Regions from separate parts of the Homo sapiens genome. Here regions 2 and 3 are each linked to region 1. The links are contacts of gene promoters, found by promoter capture Hi-C in human tissues and cell types (Jung and others, 2019). All regions are on one chromosome and are shown on one strand. Each heading gives the region's core, a stretch centred on a gene start or on the middle of the fragment in contact. The rest is flanking DNA. Distances are from core to core; before and after follow the strand shown.

Region 1 (4,709 bases), core at 1,231-3,730:
CCAGGACAGCGTCCCCTCAGCCAGGGAGGTGGCAGCAAGTCATGCTCAGGCTAGTGGAGGGGCAGTTAGTAACCTGCAGTCGGAGGTTCACCAGTGGAAAGGCTGGAGTCGGGCAGACCCAACTCGAATCCTGCCAGGCACTGGTGCTGGGCTGCTCACCTCTCTGTGCCTCGGTTTCCTCATCCATAGAATGGGGCCAATGCTGACTTTGCAGTGCTGCTGGTGGGTGGGGGGGGGGTAAACTGAGGTTATGTCGATTCCCTTCCCAGGTGGGGAGGACAGGGGAAGTGGATGCACCTGGGGGACCATCTCAGAGGAGCTGGCCCACTCTTACTGCCTTCTCCAGATCCGGACCAGGGAGCGGTCAAGATGGTGTGCCCTTGTCTGACCTCCGTCCTGCCTGCTGTCCAGCGACTCCCTGGCTTCCTCCCCGTCACGTGGGACTCCTGTACCCGGTGCTGTCGGGGGAGCCCCCCTCCATACCCTCCAGACCTCACAAGACACTTCCAGGTCTGGCCACAAGGTGGAGTGTGGCGGCTGCAGGACAGTGCTGGGGGCCGGGCTGCAGAGGAGACTGGACCTGCGCCGGGTGACCTCCCCGCTCTGTGAAAGTGTGGGAGTTTGTGTCTGTGCATCCAGAGAACCAGAGGGTGGTGGTTGACTTGCCGTGCTCCCCCCAGCCCCCCATTGGGATTGCCTGGGTCTCTGGGGGATCACTGAGAAGCTGGATAAAGAGAGCTGGCACTGTCGCCTTGGCTCACTAACGCCACCATTTTACAGGTGAGGAGACTGAGGCCCAGAGAAGGAAGTCACGTGCTGAGGTCACCGGCTAATCAGTGGCTGAGCTGGGCTCGAACCCAGATCTCTTACGCTGTGAGGCCTCTGCTTTTCCTGTGGCATGGAGAGGGGCTTCTCCCACCTGGGGAGAGGGATCCTGTTGTATTGGAGAGGCAGGGGATTAAAGATGGACTGAGAGAGGTTAGTGTCCCAGAAACCAAGGGGCAATCCCTGCCCTGGAGAGAACAGGCCTCAAGGGCAGGGATGGGGCAGGGGCAGTGGATAAGGAGTCTACCCAGGCCTTTTTGGGTTCCCTCCTTTGGTCCCTGGGGACCCAGGGCTGTGGCACTTGCCCCGGGCTAGAGGGTCGGCCAGGGCCTGTGTGGTGCCCACTGCTCCCTCCCCTGCACTGCAGGGGACCCTTGCCCATCCCTCTAGCTCATCTGGACCTCCCTCAATGGCTCCTGCTGTCTTTCCAGGCTGTGTCCTCCCGTGTCAGGGACACATCCCAGAGCCCAGGGCCTGCGTGGGCTGTATCCACGGTTACTGAATAGGGACAAACAGGCATGTATTGGCAGGGGCCGGTGGCTCATTTCAGGAAAGTCCCTTCAGCAAGAGGATTCTCTCCCCACTGGGGCTGAGGGTGGTAGAAGAAAGGAATGTTGTTCTATGTTGTAGTGTCTCTGAGATGACCTGGCTTCCTGAACCAGGTCCCCCTGAAGAGCTCCTCCTGTCCACCCCAACAAGAGGCCAGCTGGAGAGCAAGCAAACATCGAGTGCAGCAGGAGACTATAAGGTTAGACAACAAGAAGGACTTCCTGGCAGGGGAGAGCAATGCTTGCTTGGTTAGAGCTGCCTTTCAGTAGAATGGGCTGCTTTGGATTGCAGTGAGGTCGCTGGAGTTGCAAACAGCAGAGCCAGAGATCAAGGTCAAGTGGAAGAAAGCTGGGAAAGGTTCAGTTTGGCTGGTGAAGGGTGGAGAGGGTAAAGGGAGGCAGGGACCACCGTGGTGCAGGGGTGAGGTGCCCTGCAGGGAGCTGATCCTGAGGCCGATGGTGGGAGGAGCTGTGTGTGGTCGGGTGGGACGGGGTGGGGACAGCAGGAGACACTGAGAAGGTGGCATGGCCAGGAGCTAGGGGCTGACCGAGTGTGGGGAGGGGGGAGTGGGGAGGGGGCGTTGGGCTGCCCGATGGGAGGTGCCTTGGCTCCGATGGGAGCACTGGGGAGCAGCAGGTGGGGGGACGAGCTGGGTGGGAGGGGCTGCAGCTTCCCAGCAGAGACAGGGTCTGGGAGGCGACTGGACTCGAAGGCCTGGGCTTGGGAGAGAGGCCCGGGCTGGAGAGGTGGGGAGGGGGATCCAGGAGAGGGGATAACTAAGGACTTGGGAGTAGCTGGCATCACCTGGTGAGACGAGAGTCCTGAACAGCCCCCTCTCCAAGGACAGAAATTTCTCCAAGGAGGCTGACCTGAGAGGTGGGAGGAGAGTGGGGCAGAGGGTCAGGAGGGAGAAACCAGTGGGTGCCAAGACCAGGTCAGCCCCACAGGCTAGGGGGCTTGAGGACTTGGGGCTGATGTCTAGGGACGTCCACGAGGTGGAGCAGCCCAGGAGGCCTGGGTGGGAGGAGGAGGCGGTGGCGGGGAGGGGAGGGAGGGGCTGGGCCTCTGTCCACAGCATTAGTGCTGGTTGGAGGGACGAGGGGGGTGCGGAGCCAGCCAGGCCGCCCTCCCGTTCTCACAGCAGCCGAGCAGAGCGCAGAGCGGGCTGCCATGGCGCTGGCCAGGCCTGGGACCCCGGACCCCCAGGCCCTGGCCTCTGTCCTGCTACTGCTGCTCTGGGCCCCTGCCCTTTCCCTCCTGGCTGGTGAGTTGGGGCCCATGTCTGGAGGGGCCTGGGAGAGGGTCTGTCCCCCAAGACAGATACCCCAAGCCTTGGCTGCTGGGGTGGTGGGTGGGCTGGTCCGCGTGGGTGCAGGCCTGAGCTGTGGGGTGCACAGGAGTGCGCGGCTGTGGCCCCCAGACTCTGTGGGGCTCCACGGAGGTGAGTGTGTTCTGAGGCTCGGGGCTGTTTCATGTTGAGGGGGGTTGTAAGTTTCGGGGTTGGGGGATCGGGGGCTGGGCATGATTTGGGGGAGCTGATGCGGGTGAGGGATGGGGTGCGTGTTTTGGGAGGTGCTGTGTTGCATCCTGTAAAGGGCTGGGGGACTTCTGGGTTTCTAGGGGCTGAGTTTGGGGAGTTGCAGGTGGCATAAGCCTCACCCCAGAGCTTGTTCTGTGTCGCATGCTGGGTTGTGGGGCACAGGTTGTGGGTGTGTTAGAGTTGGGAGGTGGATGAGCTGTCTGGGGTGAGCCGTGAGTTGTGTCCGAGGAGTTGGGTGTGGTGAGCTGTGTCCTAGCACACGCTGTGGGGTGTAGGTTGTCCAGGGTTGAACTAGGTCTTTGCTCTCAACATGAGGGGTGTGGGATGTGCACAGCCGACCCCAACTCGGGACTGAGTGGAGAAGCGTGAGGGAGACTCAGGGAGCTGGGTGCCTGCCCGCACCCCTCCATTTGTGCGGTAGCCCTGCCTGTGCTGAGGGCTGCTGGGGATGCTCTGGGTCCCTGTGGGGTGGCTGGGGATTTGGGAACATGTGTGTGTCCCCTGCTGCCCCCTCCCCAGCATTCCAAGGCCAATCTGAAAGGGCTCCCTGAAGCCAGACCACATTTGCCAAGCCCTTTTTGCTTTTGTCCAAGCTCTCGGAGCCTGGAATTCCTCCTGGGGGGTCCAAGGGAACGCTTGGTGTTAGTTACTATAGTTACAGGGGCCGGGCCTGGGAAGTCCCCTGCCCCCACCACCACAGGCTGGGGAGGGAGCCAAGGAGGGCCTGGGCTCTCCTGAGGCTGGGGGAGCCCTCCCTGCCCCAGAGCTCCACAGGCTGTAGGGTGTGGGGGCCAAGTGTCTCCCAGTCCCACCTGGGGACCCTCATGTTTCCCGCACTCACAAAGCTTTCATTTCCTATCCTCTCTATGGGGCCCTAGGGAGGATGAGGACCCCATTTTGCAGTGAAGGAAACCAAGGCTCAGAGAGGGACGGGGACTTATGAGCTGGGCTCTGCTGGCAGGCGACTTGGGCTCCATAGAGGGGTGGGGCATGGTGGCGGGGGGCGGGGTGGCTGCTCCTCTCTGTTCTCTGCATACAAAGCACGTGAGATCCCGGTCTGTGGATCGGTGCTCTGTCCCCTGCCCTGTGATGCTCACACACCCACACTCCGCACACCTGTGTGGCATGCCCAAGGGCACACAGCACCACAGGGACAGGTGCTACAGACACATGTGGATCTACCAGCACATGCACCTACCTACACACATGGCATGTGCCTGCACACCAATGTGCACACCCCAACACGCACATGTGGACATGTGTGCATTCACACTCAGTGTGCACTCACAGGGGACCTGGAGGCACAGAGTGGATGGAGGCTGTGGGGGGTCTGGACACTGGTGTGTACACTCAACCCATCAGGCCTGCTGGGTTGCCCAGGGGCAGCCTTTCCTCTGCCATTTCTGTGCTGGGAGCGCCATCCCTGGGGATCCCTAAAAGTTGGTGGGGTACACTGCAGGCATGACCATTTCTGCATGCTGGTACCCTAGACTGCCTGCCGGGAGGGGAGGGATTGGGGATTTTGTCACTTGAAAACCAATTTCCATCCTGGAGGGGATGGGGGCTTCTGGAGGCCATGGGCCCCTGGCTTTTCTCCCCACCCCTGCCAGGCCCTGAGCTGGGCCTCTCCATCCTGGGCCCAATTTGCCACAAAGGCCCGGCTGGTTGCCATGGAGAGGACCAAGCATCTTGGAGTACAATGGGGCACGTTGGGCTCTCATATCCACCCTCCCTTCCCCAAACACCCAGGGAGCCCAGCAGACAAAGGGGCAGTGAGTCCAGGCCCCAAGTCCGG
Region 2 (4,709 bases), core at 713-3,212, 870 kb after region 1:
CTCTTCCAGGTAACCAATTCCCTATATTAAATTTCCTCTGTTGGAAATACCTAGAGTGGTTTCTGTTTTTCTGACTGGCCTTGAATTTTACAGCGGGCATCTTTGGCCCAAGAATTGTCTCTCTCTTCTCCACTTACAGAGTTTTTATCCTAGAGGGGCAGCATCAGACCCCTGAGGGCATGTCACAGGCGGGACTAATGGAAGAGGCTCTAGCTCCTTCTAGCTCTTTGCAGTAAACTTACTACAAGACAGCAAAGCTTTCTCATGCTACCACTGACTGTCTCTTGTGACATAGGTGGAGTAGCATTGCGCTACTCTGCTGTCTCTCTACTTCACCTTCCTGAAGACTTATTGCACAAAGGGTGGGTGGAGCTGTCGAGAACCAGGGGAGAGAAGAAAGTAGTGAAGGGGGCAAAGAAGCCCTTCCTGGCACACTAGCAAAGTGCCTAGTACAGGGGAGGCATTCAGCAGGGTATCCATTCCTTCCCCTTCAGCATCTGTTGAAAATCAGGCTGGAGCCTCAAATATTGGAACCAGCCCTAAGGGGAATGAAGGCTCGTTCTGTGTCAAGACAGCTGCCCCAGGGTTCCACTCCTTAAGGAACAAAGGAGTGGGGACAGACTCCTTTCTGTGAGTAGAGGGGTGGTACTGCCTCCCACCTAGTGTCTCTGGGATTCCTTTTGGAGGCTGCTCACAGATGTCCTCCCACCTTGGCCTCCCCACTCCCATCTGCCCTTCCAGGTTCCCCGGCAGAGGTCCCATCAGTCAGTCCCCTCCCTCCAGCCCATGGTGGTGGCTCACCAGACGGAAGACAGTGGGTCCCTCAGGCCCTTGCTGGGCCTGCCCTATCCCAGGATCTGGGTCCCTAGCTTCATCTGTCACTTCAAAGCTTCCTGTCCCTCAGCCAGGGACTGAGGTAAATTCTAGGCGTTCTGGGCTCTCACTTTCCTCATGTTTGCATGTTCTTTGTGACGCGGTATCCAAGTCGCTGCACAGGTAGGAGGAGCCTGAGGGCTCATCCAGTCCAACCTCCTCCTATGCAGTTCAGATGGGAAAACTGAGGTTCAGAATAGAGACTTGCTGGAAGCATGAAAGTAATTGACAGGTTGGTAGGGGCACAGGGGGTGAAGCGTGTGACAAGCTGGGCCAAAGCTCCAGGGACACGGGTCCTACACTGGCACTTGCGTGGACATCCATGTTACCTGCACTCATGTGTAGTAAAGAGGTCATGCGTGTTTACAAACCATAGTACCACCACAGAGACCACAGGCCCAGCAAATGGGGCTCACACAGGCATGCACACACACACACGTATCCTTGATGGTAAACATGCCCACCCACCATTGTGCACACATGCGTGTATTTACACCCACATGCACACTCATCGGCACACAATCAGAGCCACACACCTGCACGTGCCCCCACAGAATCACACGTGTGTGCAGTCTCACCTATCTGCACTCTGCCATGGGCCCCATTACATACATGCATGCAAACAGATAACACACACGCCTATCAATAGCCAGGATGACTCACACACGAGGACACACATCATACCCTCACAGACTCGTGCATGGACCACCCTGCAGTCACAAAGCAGCATCCAGCATCCGACAATCTGCTGATGTCACTCCCCTGAGAGTAACCATGGCTCCATGCATAGGCAGAGGCAACTCAGCTCACAGGTGCCGCCTGTCCACATGCAGACACAGACACACACACACATACACACACACACACTCTGACAGTTCCCCAATGGCCAGCCTCCTCCACTGACTCCCCACAGCCAGGTGCTCTGACACCCTCCTTGGTGGGACCCTCTCTCTTCAAGGCGCCCAGAGCCACCTGGCTGTCCTTGGAACTAAGTGAGCACCCTGCCCACCCCCAGCCTTGTCCCCTAAACTGGGTGGTTTAGGTCTGAGGGGTGGGGAGAAGGCTGCCCAGAGTCCAAAGTTCAGGGGCCAACATCTTGTTTGCAGGCGCTGGTGGAAATTGCACAACCTGCCAGCTGGGTGACTTGGGCTTATTGTCTCTGAGTTCCCCTTGGCTGCAGGCCCAAGCCCAGCCAGTGACCTGTTTCTCTGGAAGAGGGTGGGGAAAGTGGTTCCTCCCTCCCCTGCCTGGGGAACTGGTGGCCCTCCCTGGGCACTGGTGGCTGGTCCCCAGCTATGTGTGCAACACACCTGACACTGAGATGCACAGAACTCAGCATCCAACCTGTCCTTTCCCAGATAGGAAACTGAAGCTCAGGGAAGGAAAGGCTTGCCCAGGGTCACCCAGCAAGGAGGCCCAGGAGGACTGGAACTCAGGCTCAGTTTCCTTTCTTTTCTTTTCTTTTTTTTTGTGATGGAGTCTCACTCTGTGGCCCAGGCTCGAGTGCAGTGGCGTGATCTTAGCTCACTGCAACCTCTACCTCCTGGGTTCAAGCGATTCTCCTGCCTCAGCTTCCTGAGTAGCTGGGATTATAGGCACGTGCCACCACACCCAGCTAATTTTTTCATATTTTTAGTAGAGGCAGGGTTTCACCATGTTAGCCGGTCTGGTCTCAAACTCCTGACCTCAGGTGATCTGCCCGCCTCGGCCCCTCAAAGTGCTGGGATTACAGGTGTGAGCTACCGCGCCCAGCTCAGTTTTCTTTCAAACCCTTTATCAAAAGAAATATAATCCAAAGCCAGACAGTACTAATGCAAATGAGCAGAGCTACCGTGGGTGCAAAAGGAAGGGACCCCAGAGCCCGTGAGTAGAGACCACTTTCCCTTTCCACACCTACCGTGGCTAAGTCAGTTAGTCAAAGGGTCACTGTGCCATATCACCAGATCATTGAGCTTAACAAATCTATCCCGACTTAAAACATTTTATTTATTTATTTATTTTTGAGACAGGGCCTTGCTCTTGTCACCCAGGCTGGAATGCAGTGGTGCAATCTCAACTCACTGCAGCCTCAACTTCCCGGACTCCACCCATCCTCCTGCCTCAGTCTCCCAGGTAGCCGGGACCACAGGCATGCACCACCACACCCGGCTAATTTTTGTATGTTTTGTAGAGATGGGGTTTCGCCATGTTGCCCAGGCTGGTCTCAAACCCCTGGTCTCAAGCGATCTGCTCACCTTGGCCTCCTGAAGTGCTAGGACTACAGGCATGAGCCACCCCAGTGAGCTTTTTTTCATTTTGTTTTAATTTGTAAAAGTTCCCACTGTGTGCATGAAATGAATTAGCAAGGCCATCATGGCTACGGGGGGTCAGGATCTGGGGCCTTCAGATCCCTCTCACCTCTGGGACCTGCAGCCCAGACTGGGCTTAGATCTCTATTCTGTTCCCCTCCAGTGGCAGCATCAGGGACATGGGGTAGAGACAAACTGAACATTCCTGAAAATCCAAGAAATCTTCTAAAGCTTTAAAAACCCATCCCATGCCTGCCTGTCTTTTCCCTCTCCCCTTCGCTGCCTTTCTGTATCTCTCCCTTCTTTCCTTTCTTCCTCCTGCCTGCCTACCTTTCTCAGTGCATCCAGTCAAAATCATGAGGCTCGAGGATGACAGTCACAGTGGCCCTTGTGAGGCTGGACCTGGGCGGCAGCCTGCTGCAATCAAAGATGGGTATGCACCGGGGCAGAGCAGAGGTATAGCTTAGCATGGACAAGAGGATTCAGGTTTCTCCTTGATGAGGCAGGGAGGCACAGATGCAGAAAGGAGGAAACCAGCTGGGTGCGGTGGCTCACGCGAGTAATCTCAGCACTTTGGGAGGCGGAGGCAGGCGGACCACCTGAGGTCAGGAGTTCAAGACCAGCCTGGCCAACATGGTGAAACACCGTCTCTACTAAAAAATACAAAAATTAGCCAGACATGGTGGTGTGCACCTGTAGTCCCAGCTACACAGGAGGCTGAGGAAGAAGAATTGCTTGAACCCGGGAGGCAGAGGTTGCAGTGAGCCGAGATTGTGACACTGTACTCCAGCCTAGGCAACAAGAGTGAGACTCTGTCTCAAAAAAAACAAAACAACAACAACAAAAAAAAAGCCAGGTGCAATGGCTCACACCTGTAATCCAAGCACTTTGGGAAGCCGAGGCGGGCGGATCACTTGACGTCAGGAGTTCAAGACCAGCCTGTCCAGCGTGGTGAAACCTGATCTCTACTAAAAAATACAAAAATTAGCCATGCGTGGTGGCGTGTGCCTATAATCCCAGATACTCAGGAGGCTGAGGCAGGAGAATCACTTGAACCCAGGAGGCAGAGGTTACAGTAAGTCGAGATCACACCACTGCACTCCAGCCTGGGTGACAGAGTAAGAATCCGTCTCAGAAAAAAAAAAAAAGGAGGAAACTGAAGAAGCCCATAGTGTTGGGCTGGAGTTGGAGCTCTCAGTGAGAACACATGGTGAGAATCTGTGTTTATGTGGAGAGAGAGAGAATATAGACAGAAAGGTGTGTCTATATATATACATGTATATGCACCTGCATGCATATGTGTATACATATATGCATATTTGATGTGTGTGTGTGTGTGTGTATTTTCAGCTCTGTTCACCAAGAAGGTATGGGAGCAGCAATGCTCTGGTAGCAATGAACATACCCAGTGCCAAGATCTTGTTTTCAAAATGCCATTTGGAGGAAGGCTGAGTCCTGGCTGGGAGAGAGGAAGAACAAGATGAACCTGGAACACCTTGTTGTGGCAAAAAGTCACTAAGCATTCAAAGCATAGTGTGGACATGTCAA
Region 3 (4,709 bases), core at 613-3,112, 520 kb before region 1:
CAACCTGGACTCAATGAGAAATCTGAAGGCCAGGTTGGAGAACAGCCTGAGGGAGGTGGAGGGCCACTATGCCCTGCAGATGGAGCAGCTCAACGGGATCCTGCTGCACCTGGAGTCAGAGCTGGCACAGGGTATAGGGGCAGTGCCAGGCCCAGGAGTACGAAGCCCTGCTGAACATCAAGGTCAAGCTGGAGGCTGAGATTGCCACCTACTGCCGCCTGCTGGAAGATGGCAAGGACTTCAATCTTGGTGATGCCCTGGACAGCAGGAATTCCATGCAAAACATCCAAAAGACCACCACCCCCCAGATTGTGGATGGCAAAGTGGTGTCTGAGACCAATGACACCAAAATTCTGAGACATTAAGCCAGCAGAAGCAGGGTACTCTTTGGGGAGCAGGAGGGCAATAAAAAGTTCAGAGGTCAAAAAATACACACAGACACACAGACACACACACACACACACACACAAACACACAAATCCCTGACTCCATGTCTTCCATCCTGGACACACTGGTGCAAGATGTGGGCTCTCAAGGCCTTGACTAGCTTCATCCCTGTGGCTTTGCAGGGTGCAGCCCCTGTGGCTACTCCCCTACCAGCTGGAGATGGGCACCTGTGACTTTTCCAGGCTCAGGTTGCAAGTTGCAGGTAGCTCTACCATTCTCAGGTCTACAGAATGGCAGTCACTTCCCATAGCTCCACAAGACAGTGACCCAGTGGGGACTCTGTGTGGGGCCTCCAACCTCACATTTCCCCTTGGCATTGACGTAGTGAGTAACTCTTTGGGGACTCTGCCCTGCAGCTGGTTTCTGTCTGGGCACCTAGGCTTTTCCATAAATCCTCTGAAACCTAGGGGGAAGCTGCCAAGCTTCGTTCACTCTTGATTCCATGTGCCTGCAGACTTAACACTTAGAAGCTACCAAGGCTTAGGGCAACTTGCACTCTCCAAAGTGGCAGATGGAACCATAGCTGGGGCCCTTTGAGCCAAGACTGGAGCTGGAGCAGCCCACCGAGGTGGTGCAGGGCAGTAGTGTGCAGGGCAGCAGCACCCTGGCCTCGCCACGGAAACCATTCATTCCTCCTTGACCTCTGGGCTGTGACTCGAGGGGCTGCCTCAAACATCTCTGAAATGCAATACAGGTCTTTCTCCCATTTTCTTGGATAGTAGCACTTGGCTCCCTTTTAATCATGCTCATTTCTCTAGCAAGTGGTAGTTCTGCAGCCTGCTTGGATTCTTTCTCTTCCACAGGGAACAGTCTGCAAATTTTCCAAACTTTTCTACTCTGCTTCCCTTTTAAATATAACTTCCAACTTTAAGTCATTCCTTTGCTCCCGCATCTCATCATAGGCTTTTAGAAGAAACCATGCTACATCTTGAATGCTTTGCTGCTTAGAAATTTCTTCCACCAGATACCCTAAGTCATCATTCTGAAGTTCAAACTTCTACAGATCCCTAGGATGTGAACACCATGCAGCCAAGTCTTTTCTAGGGCATAACGGGGTTGACCTTTACTCCAGCTTTCAATAACTTCCTTATTTCCATCTGAGACCTCATCAGTCTGGCCTTCACTATCCACATTTCTATTAGCAATTTGGTCACAACCACTTAACAAGTCTCTAAGAAGTTCCAAAATTTCCCTTGTCTTCCTGTCTTCTTCTGAGCTCTCCAAACTCTTCTAACCTCAGCCTGTTACCCAGTTCCAAAGCCACTTTCACATTTTCAGGTATCTTTATAGCAATGCCACACTCCTCAGTACCAATGTTCTGTATTAGTCTGTTCTTGTGTTGTTCTACAAAGAAATAACGGAGTCTGGGTACTTTATAAAGAAAAGAGGTTTAATTTGGTTCACAGTTCTGCAGGCTGTACAGGCATGGCACCAACATCTGCTTAGTTTCTGTTGAGGGCCTCAAGAGGCTTACAATCATGGTGGAAAGCGAAGGGGAGCCAGTGTATCACATGGCAAGAGCAGGACCAAGGTGTGTGTGGGGTGCAGAAGTACCACACTCTTTTAAACAATCAGATCTAGCATGAACTGAGTGAGAACTCACTCATCAACCAGGGATGGTGCTAAGCCATTCTTGAGGGATCTGCCCCCATGATCCAATACATTCCACCAGGCCCCACCTTCAGCACGAGGCCACATTACAATATGAGATTTGGAGGGACAAACATCCAAGCCATTATCAGTAGCCTCCAGCCTCCAGCCAGCAAAAAAACTGATGTCCTCATTCCAAAGGGCATAAAGAACTGAATGAATTCTGCCAATAATCATGAGTGAGCTTGGAAGCGGATCCTTCCCCAGCTGGGCTGTGAGATGACTGCAGTGCCAGCCAACAGCTAGATTACAGCCTGTGAGAGACCCTGAAGCAGAGGACCTATTTAAGTCATATCCAGATTTCTGACCTACAGAAACTGAGGTGATACATTTTTTGGTAAGCCCCTAAGTTTTCCGGTAATTTGTTATACCAACAGATAATTAATACAAGAGTTATTCCAATTTTTATTTTCATTTTGTATCCAGTTTGGTAAACTGTATTTTTAAGGAATTTGTCCATTTCCAAGTTAAGACCTTATTATAGTCTTATTTATTAATTTCCTTCAGAGGTAGACAAAGTATACCAATTCATTCACTGAAAAAAAAAAAACTTCAGAAATAAAAACTTATGTCCACACAGAAACATGCATACAAATGTTCATAGCAGCTTTATTTGTAACAGCCAAAAATTTGAAACATTCCAAATGCCCTTCAATGAGTTAATAGCTAAAGACACCATTACCATGGTGTGTAGTATACATGTAGTATACCATGGTACCACGGATGTACCATGGCATATTACCCAGCAACATAAAGAAAAAAACTATTAATACATACAACCATTTGGATGAATTTCAAGGGAATTATGCTGAGTGAAAACAAAAAGCCAATCTCGAGGTTACATATGGTGTAATTCCAGTAATATAACATTCCCAAAATGACAAAATTACAAAGATGGAGAACAGATTAGTGGTTGCCAGGGTTTAGGGATGGGAGAATGGGGATAAGCAAGGAAAATGGATGTGATATAAAGGGGTAGCATGAGGGATCACTGAGGAGATGGAACAGCTCTTGATAGTAGTGGTGGTTCCACAAATCTACATGTGAAAACTACATAGAACTTACACACACACGAACATGCACATGCATGCAAATGAGTGCATGGGAAAGCGGTGAAATCTGAATAAGCTCTGGATTGTAGGAATGTCAAGTTCCTGGTTTTAATATTATAATTAGGGGCTGGGCTTGGGTGGCTCACGGCTGAAATCCTAGCACTTTGGGAGGCTGAGGTGGGTGGAACCCTTGGGTTGAAGAGTTTGGGACCAGCCTGGGCAACATGGCAAAACCCCATCTCTACAAAACATACAAAAACTAACCAGGCGTGGTTGTGTGCACCTGTAGTGCCAGCTACTTAGGAGGCTGAGGTGGGAGGATCACCTAAGCCCAGAAGGTAGAAGTTGCAGATCATGCCACTGCTGCACTCCAGCCTGAGCGACAGTGAGACTCTGTCTCAAAAAAAAAACAAAAAAAACAAAAAACTATAGTTATGTAACATGTTACCACTGGAGAAGGTGTGTGAAGCTATATGGTCCTCTGTACAATTTTTGCACTTCCTGTGAATCTACAATTATTTCGAAATATAAAACTTTTTTAAAAACTTCAGTTGATCTTATCTAAAATCTCGGGTTTAAATATCTCTTTAATTAATTAATTTGAGATGGACTCTCACTCTGTCACTCAGGCTGGAATGCGGTGGCAAAATCTTGGCTCACTGCAACCTCCAAATTCCAGGTTCCAGTGATTCTCTTGCCTCACCCTCCTGAGTTCCTGAAACTACAGGTGCTTGCCACCATGCTTGGCTAATTTTTTGTATTTTTAGTAGAGGCAGGTTTCACCATGTTGGCCAGGCTGGTCTCGAACTCCTGACCTTAAGTGATCTGCCCTCCTTGGCCTCCCAAAGTGCTGGGATTACAGGCGTGAGCCACCATGCCCGGCCCTAAATTCCTATTTTAAATGGCACCCTCCATCTGATTCTCACTGGATCTGCCTTTTGAATAAAGACCTGAAGTGAAAGATCTAATCATGAAGATATTCCATGGGTATCTGGGATACTTTGTTAATGTGCATGATAATTATTTCAATAGATATTATAAAGGAAATAAAATCTCCCTGGAATTTCATTTCCTTAAGTTTCCTCTCCCTTACCTGGATCACCCATCCATGGTTTTTCACCCTCTTCCTCCTTCCTGATCTCCATTGTCACATACTTTAGGATGTATATAACATGTTTTACAAATATTGGACTGTTCTCAGCAATGGGGTCTGGGATTTTAAGCCAAATTTAATCCCCTATATTGATTGGGTAGATGTCCAATAGACTTCCTACACTACAAATCCTGTCCATTGCTGTCTCCTACTTTTTAAATCCATCTTTTTTTCCTCCGTCCCAGCTTGGCCATGCTCTCAATACTTCTTACCTAGATTGCTGACCTGGCCTCCCTGCTGGTCTATCTCCAGCTTTACCTTTCACCCCATGGCTAAAGGGATCTAAAATCCCAAATTGTTTAGATTATATAACTCGTCTCTTTAGAATGGTATTTGCTGTCCTTCATGAAGTCCCTACCTACCTCCTCTGCGACCTTGGGCAAAATCTCTTAAGATCTCAGCCTCAG

What was found. Contacts are between HindIII fragments. The study calls those that stand out against the background at their distance.
Region 2: a fragment that was not itself captured here is called in contact with the fragment with the promoter of CRB2 in region 1 in 1 of the 25 tissues and cell types used here (adrenal gland).
Region 3: a fragment that was not itself captured here is called in contact with the fragment with the promoter of CRB2 in region 1 in 1 of the 25 tissues and cell types used here (lymphoblastoid cells).

Annotation. Positions count from the first base shown.
Region 1 is chr9:123,353,717-123,358,425 of GRCh38, forward strand. It overlaps CRB2 (crumbs cell polarity complex component 2), which reads left to right and starts at 2,481. Exons shown (of 13, transcript NM_173689.7): 1 at 2,481-2,638. The coding sequence starts at 2,545. RefSeq lists silencers at 302-411, 432-481 and enhancers at 444-943, 612-781, 4,162-4,709. The HindIII fragment of the contact is 16,000 bases long and covers 1-4,709 here.
Region 2 is chr9:124,221,535-124,226,243 of GRCh38, forward strand. No RefSeq gene overlaps it. Among named protein-coding and RNA genes, the nearest start is that of NEK6, 34 kb to the right of the region's middle. The HindIII fragment of the contact is 4,341 bases long and covers 1-4,133 here.
Region 3 is chr9:122,838,463-122,843,171 of GRCh38, forward strand. It overlaps the pseudogene KRT18P67. Among named protein-coding and RNA genes, the nearest start is that of PDCL, 12 kb to the left of the region's middle. The HindIII fragment of the contact is 8,050 bases long and covers 1-4,709 here.